Linked DNA regions of Homo sapiens: region 2 is linked to region 1. Evidence: promoter capture Hi-C in human tissues and cell types (Jung and others, 2019). All regions are on one chromosome and are shown on one strand. The core of a region is centred on a gene start or on the middle of the fragment in contact, and the rest is flanking DNA. Distances in the headings are between cores, read along the strand shown. Region 1 holds the start of SMG8 (SMG8 nonsense mediated mRNA decay factor). Region 2 has its middle 6.8 kb from the start of MIR21.

Evidence for each region. The method cuts DNA at HindIII sites, captures the fragments that hold promoters and counts their contacts. A contact is called where the count stands out against the background at its distance.
Region 2: a contact is called between a fragment that was not itself captured here and the fragment with the promoter of SMG8 in region 1, in 1 of the 25 tissues and cell types used here (dorsolateral prefrontal cortex).

The regions. Positions count from the first base shown.
Region 1 is chr17:59,207,508-59,211,347 of GRCh38, forward strand. SMG8 (SMG8 nonsense mediated mRNA decay factor) reads left to right here and starts at 2,528. Exons shown (of 4, transcript NM_018149.7): 1 at 2,528-3,840. The coding sequence starts at 2,545. RefSeq lists an enhancer at 2,337-2,406. The HindIII fragment of the contact is 6,268 bases long and covers 1-3,797 here.
Region 2 is chr17:59,846,317-59,849,896 of GRCh38, forward strand. It overlaps the pseudogene RNU6-450P. Among named protein-coding and RNA genes, the nearest start is that of MIR21, 6.8 kb to the left of the region's middle. RefSeq lists enhancers at 223-1,211, 2,752-3,071 and a silencer at 1,250-1,349. The HindIII fragment of the contact is 8,201 bases long and covers 1-3,580 here.

The DNA.
Region 1 (3,840 bases), core at 1,278-3,777:
TTAAAATGTGTTCTACCTTGCATCTTTAAATAAAGATTAATAAAAGTTTTGGTTTTTCCCTTTTTAACCTTTTTTTTTAACTAGAAATAATAATACCTATAGAAAAGTATATATTGGCCGGGCGCAGTGGCTCACGCCTGTAATCCCAGCACTTTGGGAGCCCAAGGCAGGTGGATCATGAGGTCAGAAGATCAAGACCATCCTGGCTAACACGGTGAAACCTGGTCTCTACTAAAAATACAAAAAATTAGCCGGGCGTGGTGGCAGGCGCCTGTAGTCCCAGCTACTTGGGAGGCTGAGGCAGGAGAATGGCATGAACCCGGGAGGCAGAGCTTGCAGGGAGCTGAGATCACGCCACTGCACTCCAGCCTGGGCAACAGAGTGAGACTCTGTCTCAAAAAAACAAAAAAGTATATAGTAAGTATAGAAAATATATGAATTAAAAAATCAATGCCGAGCGTGATGGCTCAAACCTATAATCCCAGCACTTTGGGAGGCCGGGGTGGGCAGATCACCTGGGGTTGGAAGTTCGAGACCAGCCTGGCTAACGTGGGGAAACCCCATCTCTACTAAAAATACAAGTTTAGGTGGGCGTGGTGGTACGTGCTTGTAATCCCAGCTACTTGGGAGGCTGAGGCAGAAGAATTGCTTGAGGAGACGGAGACAGGGAATAGGAGATGGAGGTTGCCGTGATCCCAGATAGCACCACTGCACTTCAGCCTGGGTGACAGAGTGAGACTCTGTCTCACAAAAAAAAAAAAAAAAAATTTTAGGCCGGAGGCGAGGTGTGGTGGCTGACACCTGTAATCCCAGCACTTTGGGAGGCCGAGGTGGGTGGATGATGTGAGGTCGGGAGTTCGAGACCAGCCTGGCCAACATGGTGAAACACCATCTCTACTAAAAATACAAAAATTAGCCGCCCATGGTGGTGCACCTGTAATCCCAGCTCCTTGGGAGGCTGAGGCAGTAGAATCACTTGAACCTGGGAGGTGGAGTTTGCAGTGAGCTTAGATTGCACCACTGTACTCCACTCTGGGCAACAGAGCAAGACTCTGTCTCAAAATATATATAATATATATTATTATGTATATATATAATATATATTATTATGTATATGTGTAATATATATTATTATGTATATATATAATATATATATTATATCATAATCCCTTCCCTCACTAAGTAATCACTGACCTACTTGGTACAATAAATATTTCCTTGCTTTTAGTAAGAACACACCCCTAAATGCAATGGTTTATTTTGCTTGCTTTTGAACTCTATAGAAATAAAATCAGGCCTGGCGCAGTGGCTCTCGCCTGTAATCCCACCACTTTGGGAGGCCGAGGCGGGCAGATCATGAGATCAGGAGATTGAGACTATCCTGGCCAACATGGTGAAATCCTGTCTCTATTAAAAATACAAAAGTTAGCTGGGTGTGGTCTCACGCACCTGTAATCCCAGCTACTTGGGAGGCTGAGGCAAGAGAATCACTTGCACCGGGGAGCCGGAGGTTGCAGTGAGTCGAGATCGCGCCACTGAACTCTAGCCTGGCCACAGAGCAAGACTGCATCTCCAAAAAAAAAAAAAAAAAAAAAAAAAAATAGAATTATAGGGTATATACACTTTTGTTTCTGATTTCTTTCAATCAACATTTATTTTAAAGATTCAGTCATGTTATTGTATAGTGCTATAGATAATTTTTTTAGATTCAAAGATTTTTATTTTTTACAAAACCCCAGAATAATAAACGTTATAATTATACATTTAAATCTGGTTGTAAGTTTTATCCTGGCAGCTATTTGTCAATATGCCTTCTAGTTAGAGAGGTTCTGCAAGTTATAATTTACATACAAAGATATTTCGCAATTTTTTTTTTTTTTGAGACGGAGTCTCACTCTGTCGCCCAGGCTGGAGTGCAGCGGGGTGATCTCGGCTCACTGCAACCTCCACCTCCTGGTTCGAGCAATTCTCCTGCCTCAGCCTCCTGAGCAGCTGGAACTACAGGTATGCGCCACCACGCCTAATTTTTGCTTTTTTTTTTTTTTTTTTTTTTTTTTTTAGACGGTTTTCGCTCTTGTTGCCCAGGCTGGAGTGCAATGGTGTGATCTCGGTTCACTGCAACTTCCGCCTCCCGGGTTCAAGCGATTGTCCTGCCTCAGCCTCCCGAGTAGCTGGGATTACAGGCGCCCGCCACCACGCCCGGCTAATTTTCGTATTTTTAGTAGAGATGGGGTTTCACCATGTTGGCCAGCCTGGTCTCGAACTCCTGACTTCAGGTGATCCGCCCGCCTTGGCCTCCCAAAGTGCTAGGATTACAGGCGTGAGCCACCGCAGTAGTCCCAGTTTTGTTTTGTTTTTTTGTTTTTTGTTTTTGATATCTCAATTCCTACAGTTGAGGAAACAAACTAGGAGAGGAGAAGAGGAGGCGGAACTCAAGTGACGGGAAAGCAGGAACTGAAGAAGCGGAGGAAGGATTTCAAAATTGGACGAAAGCCGGTCGGTTTTACTAACGGACCGGAAGGACTCTAGAGAACGCTCTGCACTATGGCTGGTCCCGTGAGCTTGCGAGACCTTCTAATGGGAGCATCAGCCTGGATGGGCTCTGAAAGTCCCGGAGGGTCCCCTACTGAGGGCGGAGGGAGCGCGGCTGGCGGACCGGAGCCTCCATGGCGGGAGGATGAGATCTGCGTTGTGGGAATCTTCGGCAAGACGGCTCTACGCCTGAATTCCGAGAAGTTCTCTCTTGTGAATACGGTGTGCGACCGACAGGTCTTTCCTCTCTTTCGCCACCAAGATCCTGGGGATCCAGGACCTGGAATCAGAACTGAGGCTGGCGCCGTGGGTGAGGCCGGTGGAGCCGAGGACCCTGGGGCTGCAGCCGGGGGTTCAGTTCGGGGAAGTGGAGCTGTCGCGGAAGGTAACCGAACTGAGGCAGGCTCCCAGGACTACAGCCTTCTGCAGGCCTACTACAGTCAGGAAAGCAAAGTTCTGTATCTTCTCCTCACCTCCATCTGTGACAATTCACAGCTTCTCCGGGCTTGTCGGGCTCTTCAGAGCGGGGAAGCTGGAGGTGGACTCTCTTTACCTCATGCAGAAGCACACGAGTTCTGGAAGCATCAAGAGAAGCTGCAGTGCCTCAGTCTCCTTTACCTATTCTCTGTCTGTCATATCTTGCTTCTGGTCCATCCCACTTGTTCCTTTGATATCACTTATGATCGAGTATTCAGAGCCCTGGATGGGCTGAGACAGAAGGTCCTGCCGCTCCTTAAAACAGCCATTAAGGATTGTCCAGTTGGCAAAGACTGGAAGCTAAACTGCCGACCTTGCCCACCTAGACTCCTTTTCCTCTTTCAACTCAATGGAGCCCTCAAGGTAGAACCTCCTCGGAACCAAGACCCAGCTCATCCAGACAAGCCCAAGAAACATTCTCCCAAAAGGAGGCTGCAGCATGCCCTGGAGGACCAGATCTATAGAATCTTCCGGAAGAGTCGTGTCTTGACTAATCAGAGCATCAACTGCCTCTTTACTGTGCCTGCCAACCAAGCTTTCGTGTACATAGTACCGGGAAGCCAGGAGGAGGACCCAGTAGGTATGTTGCTGGACCAACTTAGGAGTCATTGTACTGTGAAGGACCCGGAATCTTTGCTGGTGCCTGCACCCCTTTCTGGGCCTAGGCGATACCAGGTGATGAGGCAGCACAGCCGACAACAACTTTCCTTTCACATTGACAGCAGCAGTTCCAGTTCTTCAGGCCAGCTAGTGGATTTCACTCTTCGGGAATTCCTATGGCAGCATGTGGAGCTAGTTCTAAGCAAGAAAGGTTTCGATGACAGTGTGGGC
Region 2 (3,580 bases), core at 920-3,419, 640 kb after region 1:
TAAGGCACATTCGATCTAGAAAGTGGAACTGAATTGCTTTGGGAAGGCAAGAGGATGATTTTACAGTATAGGGTTTGTGTGGAAATCCCCTTCAGCAGTAATCAACCCAGGTGTCCAACCTGTTTGTTAACCATTTCCAAATGACTCAGAGGACCTAGAGGGAGGGCTTGAACACACTCCAGCACTGTTTCTACAATTTAGCCTTTATTTGCATTGGAAACCACATTCCTGAATTCTTGAGGGGGCAGGCTCTGGCTTATTCTGGGCAACTGACTTCAAGTGGGACCCCTGAGCTACCTATGTAAGCAAAGAGTCAGCCATCTCTGGAGAGTTACCAGGGAGGAGGATCTTTCTGTGAACTTGCTTTGATGACCTCCACCCAAAGCCCTTTGAGGAACAGTTTTGTTTATTCAAGGAGCCCTTGGCAGGTCACTCCTCCCCTACCACAAATCTAATCCAAATGCGACATTTTCCTTTGAGGCCATCTATCCCTTTTGGGGGACAAAACACATCAGCTTTTCCCTTCAGACCACTTTTGACTGAAGCAGTGATCAACATTGCTTAATTGTGTTCCAGTCTGTTTCCAGCGGGGAAAAAATGCTTTAGGGGAGTGAGGCAGTTAGGGATTTGAAAACAGGGATGGTGCCGCCTGAAGGTGGGGAATGACTTAGATCACTGTCTTCCTTTGGCTCCTCACCATGTTGTGTGGAGGAAACGAAAAGCAGCTCAAGTTCACTCCTCTTGGCAGTAGTGCAGAAGCCTGGCTTGCCACGGCCCTGGAGAACCATGTTTTTCCCAACTTTTTTTTTTTTCTTTTGAGACGGAGTTTCACTCTTGTTGCCGAGGCTGGAGTGCAGTGGCGCAATCTCGGCTCACTGCAGCCTCCGCCTTCCAGGTTCAAAGCGATTCTCCTGCCTCAGCCTCTCAAGTAGCTGGGATTACAGGTGCATGCCACCACACTCGGCTAATTTTTTGTATTTTTTTCAGTAGATACGGGGTTTCATCATGTTGGCCAGGCTGGTCTCGAACTCCTAACCTCAGGTGATCCACCCGCCTCGGCCTCCCAAAGTGCTGGGATTACAAGCATGAACCACCATGCCCAGCCTTTTTTTTTTTTTTTTTTTTTTTTAATACAGAACACAAATTTGAGTGTCATTCTTGTGCAGGGGCCATGCTAATCTTCTGTATATTGTTCCAATTTTGGTGTATGTGCTGCCAAAGCAAGCACCCAGCTTCTTTTCATTAGTTAAGAAGATGAAGGCCAAGACTAAGGCAGGGAGGCCTTTCTCTGCCTTTCACTCTTTAGTGCACCTCACAGTCAGTTGCACTTGAGTAAGGACTGCTAAACCTCTCTGAGAGCTGCCAGATGTTCCTGCCTAGCCTCAGGTTGTTGGTTCTTCAGACACCTCTTCATTCTGCCCATTGCACCAGCCCTTTCCCATCTCCATGTTCCCTCCATGGTAATTTCTTTGTACACAACAACCACACGGAGCACCAGCAATCAAGATTAGCTCCCGGGAACTCTGGCGTGCCCTGTACCAGGAAGCACAGTGGATTACTACAACTTTTGATAATGATTGTTTGCTTTGTACCAGGCATTATTTTCAGGGCTGTTTCACATGTGTTGTACTTAACAACCCCATGAGGAAATTAAGGCAGGGTGGTTCAGTAATTTGTCAAGGGAAACAAGGAAGTAGAGCAGGCAGCAGAGGCGTTCTGGCTCTGAACTACTCTGTTCTGTAGAAATCAGTGCAAAAGTCCAAGCTTCAGCATACTTGTTTCATCTTGTGATCACAGGTAGTTTTTTTTGTTTTTTTTTTGTTGTTGTTGTTGTTGTTTATTTGTTTGTTTTGAGATGGAGTCTCGCTGTCGCCCAGGCTGGAGTGCAGTGGGGCGATCTCCGCTCACTGCAGGCTCCGCCTCCCGGGTTCAAGCCATTCTCCTGCCTCAGCCTCCCGAGTAGCTGGGACTACAGGCGCCCGCCACCTCGCCCAGCTAATTTTTTGTATTTTTAGTAGAGACGGGGTTTCACCGTGTTAGCCAGGATGGTCTCAATCGCCTGACCTCGTGATCCGCCCGCCTCGGCCTCCCAAAGTGCTGAGATTACAGGTGTGAGCCACCGCGCCCGGCCCTGATCACAGGTAGTTGATGGAGAAAGGAAGATAACAGAAAATCAAGGCCACAACCTCAAATTTTGCTATTTAAATAGATAAGCAGACTTTACTCTTCCCTGTATCACAGGGTTGGAAAAGCAAGCTCCATTCTTAGCCATCCATGTGGGCAGATTCCCAGAGTGGTGTTTGCTATAATTATGATTTAAAAGCAAGGTTTTTTGTTTGTTTGTTTTAAGGAGATGGGGTCTCCCATGTTACCCAGGCCGAACTCCAACTCCTGGGCTCAAGTCATCCTCCCGCCTCAGCCTCCCGAGTAGCTGGGACTACAGGCACTCACCACCACACTTGGGTAAAAGTAATTTCTATTTCTACAGCCTTTTTTTATTTTTCAAAGTATTTTAATGTCTTGAGTTTGGGTTTTGTTTTGAGACAGGGTTTCACTCTGTTGCCCAAGCTGAAGTACAGTGGCGCAATCACAGCCACAGCTGACTGCAACCTCCACCTCCCAGGCTCAAGCAATCCTCCCGCCACAGCCGCCCCACTCCCCACCAGTAGCTGGGACTACAGAGCTGCACCACCACACCCAGCTAATTTCTGTAGTTTTTTTTTTTAGTAGAGACAGGGTTTCACCACGTTGACCACGCTGGTTTTAAACTCCTGAGCTCAATCAATCCACCTGCCTCGGCCTCCCAAAGTGCTGGAATTACAGGTGTGAGCCACTGCACTCGGCTAGGAAACCCTTTTCTGATCTTTCCTTGTCAGCAATGATCTCTTCACACTTCCTTTCTTACGGCCCTCACCTCACTCTGTATTATAGTTATCTGCATATATGAATAAAATCCCTAAGAAGACTGCAGGGTCCTGGAGGGAGGAGATCTGTATCGACAACTTTGTCTCTTCTTCACAGCACCTTACACCAGTGGGGATTTAAAAAGTGAATACAGGGCTGGGCACCGTGGCTTATGCCTATAATCCTAGCACTTTAAGAGGATGAGGTGGGAGGATCACCTGTCGCCAGGAGTTCAAGACCAGCCTGGCCCAACATGGCAAAACCCTGTCTCTACTAAAAATACAAAAGTTCGCTGGGCGTAGTGATGCATGTCTGTAATCCCAGCTACTTGGGAGGCTGAGGCATGAGGATTGCTTGAACCCGGGAGGCAGAGGTTGCAGTGAGCCAAGGTTGCACCACTGCACTCCAGCCTGGTTGACCAGGTGACAAAGTGAGACCCTGTCTCAAAAAAACAAAACAAAAGTTTCCTGAGGGGAGTAGTATTTGAATTGACAAGGTAGAGGGAGTGAAACGAAAGGTATTCTAACCAGAAAAAAACTCAGACACCAGGAAAGAACAAATAAGGGGCTATGTGTAGGGTGGGGAGAAAGACAGCATCAGGTTTTCCACTCGAGTCCTCTGTAGCTCTGCCTTAGCTCGCTGTTTAGTTTCCTTAAAGTACCGACCAAATTCACAA